Linked DNA regions of Homo sapiens: region 2 is linked to region 1. The links are contacts of gene promoters, found by promoter capture Hi-C in blood cells and fetal thymus (Javierre and others, 2016). All regions are on one chromosome and are shown on one strand. The core of a region is centred on a gene start or on the middle of the fragment in contact, and the rest is flanking DNA. Distances in the headings are between cores, read along the strand shown. Region 1 holds the start of C14orf132 (chromosome 14 open reading frame 132). Region 2 has its middle 9.9 kb from the start of LINC02318.

The links. The method cuts DNA at HindIII sites, captures the fragments that hold promoters and counts their contacts. A CHiCAGO score of 5 or more calls a contact.
Region 2: a fragment that was not itself captured here is called in contact with the fragment with the promoter of C14orf132 in region 1 in 2 of 17 cell types (endothelial precursors and naive B cells); the score reaches 8.3 in endothelial precursors.

What each region holds. Positions count from the first base shown.
Region 1 is chr14:96,036,709-96,041,767 of GRCh38, forward strand. C14orf132 (chromosome 14 open reading frame 132) reads left to right here and starts at 2,654. Exons shown (of 2, transcript NM_001252507.3): 1 at 2,654-2,819. The coding sequence starts at 2,793. RefSeq lists silencers at 2,504-2,693, 2,714-2,763. The HindIII fragment of the contact is 11,225 bases long and covers 1-3,848 here.
Region 2 is chr14:95,561,137-95,566,195 of GRCh38, forward strand. No RefSeq gene overlaps it. Among named protein-coding and RNA genes, the nearest start is that of LINC02318, 9.9 kb to the right of the region's middle. The HindIII fragment of the contact is 1,130 bases long and covers 1,611-2,740 here.

The sequences.
Region 1 (5,059 bases), core at 1,404-3,903:
CGAGGCTGAAATATGAGAAAAGTATTTAAATTTTTACTAAAATACTACAGGACAATATCTTTATCTTTATGGTCTCAAGTTGGCAAAGAATTTATTAAACAAGGGCTAACTATAAAAGAAAATATTAATAAATTTTGACCAAATTAAAATTATTTACTTCTGTTCATGAAAAGGTATAATAGAGTGACAAGAAATGTAAAATGAAAGATGATATTTAAAAACCTATAACTAGCAAGATTAATATCTAAAACATATACTTTTCCTGAGTCAATAAAAAAATAAGCAAAATTTTAAAACAAGCACAAAAGACCTGGTGAAAGGCATTTCTCATCAAAGGAAATGAAACTGATCAATAGATGTATAAAAGATGCTTAATGTCATTAGTAATCAGAGAAATGAGGATCAAATCCAAATGAAACACTACTTCATCATATCATATTTGCAAAACTTAAAAAAAAATCCTAACAATACAAAGTGTTGGTCAATTGTGGAGCAATAAAAACCCATGCCTACTATAGGTAGGATAATAAAATGGATGAAGCCTCCTTGGAAATCAGAAACTGGAAAGCAATGGGCATCAATTAGTAAAAGCACAGATGAGCTGACCACAATACCCAACTGTTCCATTCCTAGCGTATTCCCTGAGGACCCCTTGCACCTGTGCATCCAAAGACAAGATCGAGAGTATTCACAGCAGCATTTTTTTTTGGCGTTATCAGAAAACCTGGAGATGACCAAAGTATCCATCAAAGGGCTAGTGCATCAATAAAAACTGTGATAAGGACATACAAATGGAATATTGTGTAGCACTGAAAAACAATATACGTCAACTACACAAATAATGCTGAGAAAACAACAAAGAAGACATGGAAGAGCAAATTTAGAGCAATTTAATTTTTCTACAAAGGGTTAAAGCAGGTAATCTATAAAGGTAAAACTATAAAGAAAAGCAAGAGAATTGACAAGAGTGAATACTAAATAGGATGGAGGTGACCCTGGAAAGGGGGCAGGTAGGAGATGCCTTTGGAGAGATACACAGTAGGACTTCACGACTGTTTTTTATTGTTCCACTTTTTAACCTATGCAAGGCTATATTATTTTTCAAATTGCACACACACAACCTATACGCCCTTTTATTGTGAAGTATGCCGTGTACATAATATTTCTTACAGCAGACGGGGAGCCCTGGGCAGTTCTGGGCAGGCTGCTTTGCTATTGGCCACAGGAAGGGTGGGAGGAGGTGGGCGGCTCTTGGCATGGACTGTTTGGGCAGGCCCCGTGTGGACTAGGCTGGGAGGTGGCAGGAATGATGGGTGTGGTGAGTGCAGTACTGGCTAAAAACAGGGAGGGAAGGGAGGGCCAGGGAACTGGAGGGTTTAGAGACCAGAGGAGGAAGGGAGGAGGCAAGCATGACAGGAAAAGTGAAAAGAGAAAAGAAAGAAAAAAGTGGGGGGAAGGGGAGAGAAGGAGAGAAGGAAGAGGAGGAAGAAAAGGAGGGAGAAAGGAAGGGAAGGAAAAGAAAAGAAAGGAAAGTTACAGGAAAGATAACACTGAAAGCCTTCTGTAGGTCAGTGAGGTTCTGGTCCCATTCCCATAGCCACAGTCCCTACTGGGCCCCCAGCTGCCGGGGGACCTTGAACAAACCCCTCCATCTCCCTGTGCCACAGCTTCCTTGCCTGTGACAAAGTCTGGGAGTCCCAGGCTGCCCCTCACAGAGGCTCGTGATGACCATGAGTGTAAAGTACCTGGAAGAGACATCACCCAAAGGGACCAGTCGTACTCACTGAGACTCCTTAGAGTACAGCTGGTTCCCTCCCAGTGAGCCCCCGGAGGGCAAAGCCTCCACGTGTCACCAAGTCTGTGGTGTCCACCACACACACACACACACACACACACACATACAGAGCAATGGGCCCCTGTGGGCGTCTCTTCTGTTCCCCTTACTTGAACTGTGGCACCTGCATGATTTTCGATACTGGTTTGAGCTGAGAGCCATGGAGTACCCGCTGTGCAACCTGAGCACCGTGCGGTCCTCGAAGACACCACTCACAGCCTCGTCTCTATTGGATGATTAGCCATGTTAGGGCTCTCATTTATTGAGGACACCGCGTGCTATATTCCCTATCTCATTTAATTATTCGGTTCTGTATTCTCTTTTCACAGATGAGGAAATCTAGGCTCAAAGACACTATCTTGCTCAAGCTGCACAACAAAGCAGGGCTAGGATTAAACCTCGTTCTGCCCAGATGCCGAGCCGGGAGTACACCGGACTCTGGGAGGAGCGTTGGCGTGGAAAGCCAGGTCACTCCGATCTTGGTCCTCAGGCTCGGGATAACGTGTCAGCCCCAAGAGAGCGCTGCCCACAGCCCCGGGTGGGTTGGGTTCAACTGCACGGGGCGGGGCGCCAACAGCTCAGGACTTGGGTTGCAGGCTGGTTCTTGCACCAACCAGCGGGGCGGCCTCGGGCCTCAGTTTCCCCATCCCGCCCACGAAGGGAGGCGATTGCGAGCGCTTGGGGTTTCTGACGGACCCCGCCCCGGGGGTGGGGCGGGGAGTGGTCACGTGGAGGGGCGCCCCGTCCGCCGAGCCCCGCCCCACCCCGCCCCGCCCGCCCCCGCGCTCGGGGCCCTCCGCCTAGTAGAGATCTGGAGCCAGAAGCCCAGAGACAGCCGAGTGCGCCGTGCGGTCTCCGGACGCTCGCTGCTCAGCCCGATCCCCGCCAACTGTGCAGGCGGCTGACCCGCAGCGGCAGCGGCAGCAGCGAGGACTCGAGCGCTGGCTGCAGCGACACCATGGATCTCTCCTTTATGGCCGCGCAGGTAACGGGGCGTCCCCCCCACGCGCCCCGGGCCGCCAAGTTTGGGGAGGTTCGGGGCCACGGTCTCGCCCTCCACGCTGGGGCTGGGCAGTGGCGCCCGCCCGCGATCCGCGTCCCGGTCCTTTGTCCCGAGCCGGACACCCCCACTTGGTGCACGCGTCGGGGGCGGCGATCGCGGCTCTCCCGGGGTGGGGCGGGCTGCGCGCCCCGCACCCCCGCGGCTCGAGCTGTTCCCGCCCGGGCCCCTCTCGTTGGCAGGAAGGCTGCGAGGAGCCTGGGCAGCCCGAGTCGCCCCCTTCTGCCCATCCCCCACTGCTGTCCCCCTTCTGGGGTCCCGGAGCCCTCCAAGGCCGGGCCAGCTCAGACCCGCGCGAACGTGGATGGGCACACAGTCTCGCCCTTCCCCACTCTGTTTTCCCGAGGCGCCAGTAATCTGTCTCTTGCCGGTGACCTCGGGCGCCCCCTTTGCCGCCGCCTGAGGAAGGCTCTGAGACCCGCTTTGTGACCGTGACCCGCCAAGCGTCGACGCGCCGCGGTCGTTTGTCCTGTTTTGCTTTGTGTAGAGTCTGATGGAGCCACCAGTGCCCAGCGCGGCCAGAACCCCCCCACCCCCCTCCCCGACACAAACAGGCTCCCAGTGGCCGGAAAAACAAATCTCTCACAGCTTGAATTTTCCTCCGGCAGAATGCCCTGGAGTTCTGAGCTTGGGTGATGATTCTATTTCTGTGCCTTAACTCTCTTGAGCCAGAACAAAGACAAATCCCGGATTTCTCCATCAGTCTGTGACCCTAGAGAAGACCCAGAGCTGGCTCCAGGGAAGGGCTGCGTTTGGCCTGGGAGAGTAAGTCCCAATCTACCAAAGCCACATCTTGCACCTTCTCTGGTTGTGTTGGTTGGTTATGGTGGGAGCAGAGAGGTCGGGAGGCCACCCAGGCTCCCTTCTGTCTCCAGGGTGTGTGGCAGGGACCCCATCTGCTGCTGTTTTCTTTTACAGGGAACGAAGTTTGAGGGGACACTTGCTTTTTCCCCAAGCTTCACCTGTAGTGGAAGCCTGTTTAAAAAGTGACAGCAAAATCCAGACTGTGTGTGGACAGCGAGTCTGCAAATGGAGGCTTAAAAGATGCGGAAGCCCCAAGTTAGTTCTGGGGGTCTAGATCCTGGCTCTCCGGCAGCCCCTTAAGTTTTCCATGATGCTAATTGCCCTTCTGAGTATCGCTGGCCCTTTTTTTTTTGCCTGATTTTACATCTCCTGTGCCTAAATCCATACTTATAAAAATTGTCATGTAAACATCATTTTAGATAATGATGGTTTTAGCTACATGAAAACTAAGGAGGCTTTCCAGGATTTATTTCTAGACTGGAGAAGAACTGTGTCTGCCTTCCCCTCTGGATCCCACTGAACCTCCGGAATTTCCATGGTTAACAAGATAAACTGATCCCTGCTAACCCTGGAGCTGGCTGGAGCATCAGTTGCTGCCATGGCAACTTGACGAAATAAATACAGGGCTTTTTAACGTCTTCAGGCAGAATCTGCCCAGAGACCAGGTTCCTATTTTTCCTTTTTTGTTTACAATTCACATTCCACTCGGTCAATGTATTCTCCTTGACACATTTTTGACACTGGTTACATGCGCAGTACTGTGCTAGCTGCAAGGAACAGAAACATGAAGTACCACACATATGAGAACAGACGCTAAGGTTTGTTGAGCACCTACTATGTGCCAGACGCTGGGTGCTTGGCATATTTTATCACAGCAAATCCTTACAAGTCCATGACGGAGGCCCCATTTTACAGGTCAGGACACTAAACGAGATTAAATAATTTGCCCAAGAGCATGCCATTTGCAAGGAGGAGAACTGGATTTCACATCTGGGCCTGAGTATCTGCAAAGGGTTTTCCACCTTATTGCTTCATCCTGAGAAAGATACGATGTAAGGTACAGGACAGATCTATTTCAGAATGATTTCTCTCTTCTCTTCCCTCTGGGAAGTGGGCTTACTATTGTGCCTTTCTAGTAGATTGCTTTCTGCTGTTGATTCATCCCATTATCCCCATAAGGATGGGAACTGTTACTTCCCTACCTGCAATACTTCGCAGTGCTTGGCTGGAGCAAGTGCTCAGACCCTGCTCCTGGTGTGTCCTGTGGCCACCAGGTGTGTGTGACAGTCACTGTCTCTCTGTGCAGTCTTTCCCTCAGCAGGGGGCAGTTTGCAGCGAAATGTTGGTGCATCCATCCACTT
Region 2 (5,059 bases), core at 926-3,425, 480 kb before region 1:
CTGGCTCCCTTCTGCCTGCAGGTGCACTTCTTATGCTTCGCCACCACGCGGAGCCGCGTTCTGCACTCTCCACCTTCCCTAAGTAAATTCTCTATGTGAAAAACAAATCAGGGAGATTTCTCTATGTCCCCAGGTAGAGCCCGAGTCCCGTACATTCCACATTTTTTCTGACCTTGCATCCTTCCCATCATTTCAAGGGCCCGAGGGAGAGCGTTTGGGCTCCAGACAACACAATCATATCAGAAACGTCGAATGTGTCCACATCCATTTTTTTTTCTCTCTGGAAATGCTCCCTTTAATAGGCCAGAATAGGGCTTCGAGCTGTCCTAGAGAGAGGGGCAGGAATTTGGGCACTGAAGACCAGAATCAGAACCTGGCTCCCATTTACCTTGGACAAACCACTCAAGCTCTCGGAGCCTCAGTTTCCTCATCGGTAAAAAGGAGAAAATAATAGTGCCTCCTATCAAAGAATAAATAAAAGACATAGGTAATATAATAAGCCAATTAATTTGCTTATCTATGAGGGAAACAAATGATAGATTGACTTCTACATGGGTAGGATTTATATAGGAGACACAAGAGAGAGGGAAAAAGGCAAAAATTGAAAAATCCCAGACAGTTGGGGGTAGCCAACTTTGTTTTCCTTTCCTTAGTTGGGATGTGGAGTAGGTGGTATTCAAAGTATCCTCCCCTTGGGCTGCGGGTGGTCATCAAAGAAGGTAATCTCAATTGTTTAAGGACTCCCCAAGAGCTTGTGGGTTTGACTCTGCCATATTCAAGACAGGCTATCCCTGCGCTGTCTGTCAGGGTCCTTTGATAGCACCTTCATTTCCCACCTGACTGAAGACTCTAAGAATACACATGATATTGTGCTGGAAAATGTGACACGCCGCACACAAATTGCAATTTCCAAGTAGTTCATTGTCGAAAGCTGCTGCCAAATTGGTTGCCACAGCCAGACACCTGGAAACCCCATTTGCCTCCTTCTTCCAATCCAAACAAGTCCTGTTGGTATCTGCCCCCAAATATCTCTTGAATTGCATTTCTTCTCTCCACACCAACCCCTTACCATACCCCGTATTTCCTAACTAGCCCCACCTGTCCATTACCCGTGCTTAAGAAACCACACACCTGTAACTCATCCTGGATTCAACTATGCAGTGGTTCCCTTTGTGCCAGAAAGCTCAGGACGACCCCGGCAGTAGCTGCTGAGGCCCTGTGGCTCTGGGCCCACTCTGGTGATGTCTTCTTTGGCTGTCTGTGCTCCCTCACATTCAGCTGCTTTCATTCTCCTGCAGGCTCCAGGCTCTCTCATCCCTTGGGTCTAAAAAATGCTGTCCTCTTTGGGAGCTCATTCCCTCTCTTTGAACCTTCTCTCATCCAGATAAAAGTACTCATCCCATGGGGCTCAGCTGAAAACACCTGTCTCCGGGGAGGCCTGCCTGACCCCCTAGCATAGGTCACATCTCCCTATCCTGACGTGTGTCTCCTGGGTCCCCATCCCTTCACTATCTCAGCCCTTGGGAGGTCACTTGTCGCCTCCACTAGAATGAAAATTCCCAGAGGGACCTGGCATAGCCAAAGCAGTAGGAGTGGAGGGGGAAGGTGGAAGCTTTGCTTTGCTGTAAAATCAGGCTCAATGTGGCGTCTTCCTCCAAGTCTTGCCTGGTCCATCTAGATAAAACCTGCTGCCTCTCTCCTCTGAAATCCTACTCGCTCTGTATGACCAGCCCGACATCAGGCTTAGCTGTATGAGTGTTGTGAACACTACTGGATTGTAAGAGCTCTAGGAAAGCACCATTGCACAATGGTTAGGAGAATGGCTTAGGAGCAGCGAGCCTGGGTTCGAGTCCTGCACCCCTCCTATTAGCTGAGTGATCATAGGCAAAGTACACATGGCCTCAGAGCCCCAGGCTTTGTCATGGTACAGACGCACTCACAATACCTGTTGTGAGGACCAAGGACGTAACACATCAAGCCCAGCCCTGTGGGCACTTTCTGCAACAATCAGACTGATCACGGGCTGCCACTTCATTTGCATGGGGTGAACACCAAGTGGCCAATGGGAAACCTCCAGTGGGTGGGTACTTGGACCTCAGAAGATTCTGTAACAGGGCCCTTGAGCCGCTGCTCTGGTCACTCCCACCCTGTGGAGTGTACTTTCACTTTCAATAAATCTCTGCTTTCATGTCTTCATTCTTTCCCTGCTTTGCTGTGCATTTTGTCCAATTCTTTGCTCAAAATGCCAAGAACCTGGACAACTTGCAGTCAATATCCTTTACTGGGCCGGGCACGGTGGCTCACGCCCGTAATCCCAGCACTTTAGGAAGCCGAGGCGGGCGGATCACCTGAGGTCAGGAGTTCAAGACCACCCTGGCCAACATGGTGAAACCTCGTCTCTACTAAAAATACAAAAATTAACCAGATAGTGGATGCCTATAATCCCAGCTACTCGGGAGGCTGAGGTAGAAGAATTGCTTGGACCCAGAGGCAGAGGTTGCTGTGAGCTGAGATCGCGCCATTGCACTCCAGCCTGGGCGACAGATCAAGACTCCATCTCAAAACAAACAAACAAACAACAAAAAAAAATCCCTATTGGTAACAAACTGAGTGTGAAGCCTAGCAAAGGTACGCAGTAAATACTGAATGAGTGAGTGAACGAATAAAAAGAAAATCACAGCAAATCATCACTTTTATTTGGTGACTCAGTTCTTAATAACAGGCCAATTTTAAAAACTTAAGCTTAGAAAAAGAAGTGCCTTGTCTAAGGTCCTTGAGCTAGTTCCAACCCAATGGGGCCGAGACCTGCCGGTGGCTGCACACTTGCTGTTAGTTCTCCCCACGCTGCCATGTCCCCAGAAAGGACACCCGTGAGGCTGAGCTTTGCTGAGAAGGTGCCCGGGATATCTCATGGGCAGGGAGTGGTAGGGGTAGACCCTCCCAGTCCTTCCAAATGCCCGTGGAAATCTGCTGGCAGCTGCAAAGGCCTGGCCCAGACACCCTCAGAGATGTTGGTTAATGTGTGGGATTCAGAGGCCCAGGTGTCAGGGAAAATAAAGACAAGGATGCTGGCTGGCTGCCTTCCTCCTTGGCAGTTTGCAAAGTCAATGAGTCAATGTCCCAGAACAGGGCCTTTGGGGAGAAAAGTAGCCAGCTGCGGCTGTGTCCCTGCTGGGAGTGGCTTGCTGAGAACAGTCTTGCTAACCAGCTTCTGTTGGGTTGTGCTGTGTTTGTGGGGTCAGAGTGATGATGGTGTTATTGGCGTCACAAAAAACTGCATGTGGGGGTGCGGTCTGAGCCCCAGGGTCCAAGCTCACTGCTGTGCCGCCATGGTGATCGAGCATCGCGGGTTCCCCTCGCTGTGGGTTTGGGATCAGGCAGTACCTGGTATGGTGCTTGTCTCTTACTGTGAGACCCTGGGCAAACCTGCCCCTCCCTTCTACTCCACAGGCCTTTTCACCTGTCAGAGGGGAGAAGAGTAACATCTGGTTGGGCACAATGCCTCACATCTGTAATCCTGACACTTTGGGAGGCTGAGGAGGGTGGATTGCTTGAGCTCAGGAGTTCAAGACCACCCTGGGCCACATAATATGACCTTGTCTCTAATAATAATAAATAAATAAAATAAAAGAGTAGGCCAAGCACAGTGGTTCACACCTGTAATCCCAGCACTTTGGGAGGCTGAGGTGGGTGGATCACTTGAGGTCAGGAGTTCGAGACCAGCCTGGCCAACATGGTGAAAACCCATCTCAACTAAAGATTTTTAAAAATTAGCCAGGTGTGGCCAGGTGTGGTGGCTCACGCCTGTAATCCCAGCACTTTGGGAGGCCGAGGTGAGCGGATCACGAGGTCAGGAGATCGAGACCGTCCTGGCTAACATGATGAAACCTTATCTCTACTAAAAATACAAAAAAAATCAGCCGGACGTGGTGGCGGGCACCTGTAGTCCCAGCTACTTGGGAGGCTGAAGCAGAAGAATGGCAGAACCCAGGAGGCGGAGCTTGCAGTGAGCCAAGATCGCACCACTGGACTCCAGCCTGGGCAACAGAGTGAGACTCCGTCTCAAAAAAAAAAAAAAAATTAGCCAGGTGTGGTGGTGTGCATCTGTAATCCCAGCTACTTAGGAGGCTGAGGCAGGAGAATCGTTTGAACCCGGGAGGGGGAGGTTGCAGTGAGCCGAGATCATGCCACTGTACTCCAGCCTGGGCAACAGAGCAAGATTCCATCTCAAAAAAAAAAAAAAAAAAAAAAAAAAAAAAAAAAAAAGAGTAATACCTAAGGGAGTATTTGTGAGTTTTAAAGAAAAAAAAAATGCATGTAACATGTCCAGAACAGAACCTGGTGCATTGGAAGCTCTGAATAAATATTATCTTATATCATCATCATCATCATCATTAAGTGGGAACAATTGTTGAGAAATTGATATCAATTGTTTGTAAGAAGTTTTCTAGAAAACACATTGGCCCCCACTCTATCCCCAAGCCCTTCTCAATGGTAGCTCCTAACACAGTGCTGGAGTGTTTGTTAAATGGCCAGGAACTGCTGCTGTTTAACCCGGGGCCTTTAATTGGTGTTGCTGTATCAGGAAATATGGAAGAGGGATTCCCTGGCACCTTTGCTCAACAACCCTGCCTATCTAGTATGGGTCTAGGTGTCTTCATTCATCCATCCATCCCTCCATTCATTCATTCATCAAAGCACTTTTATATACAATATATACTTGATGCCAGGTACTGTGCAAGACATCAGGCACACAATAGAGAGCTAAACCGGGCATGGCTGCTGTGCACAGGTAGCCAGTGGGAGCCAGGCCTTAATCAGACCATCCCATTGATGATAGAAGGGCACTGAAGGACAGGGAGGCTGTTTCCATGAAAGGAGACCTGGGCGTGGGGTGGTCAAGTAAAGCTTCCAGGAGGAAGTTATGCTTCAGGTGAAACTGGAAGGACACATGGGATGAGTGGAAAGGACTTGGACACAAGAGGAAAGGGGAAGGAGGAAGGCAGGGCCCTGCAAGAGCTGGAACCCCCTGGGGTGGGATAAAGGAGGGCACTCTCTT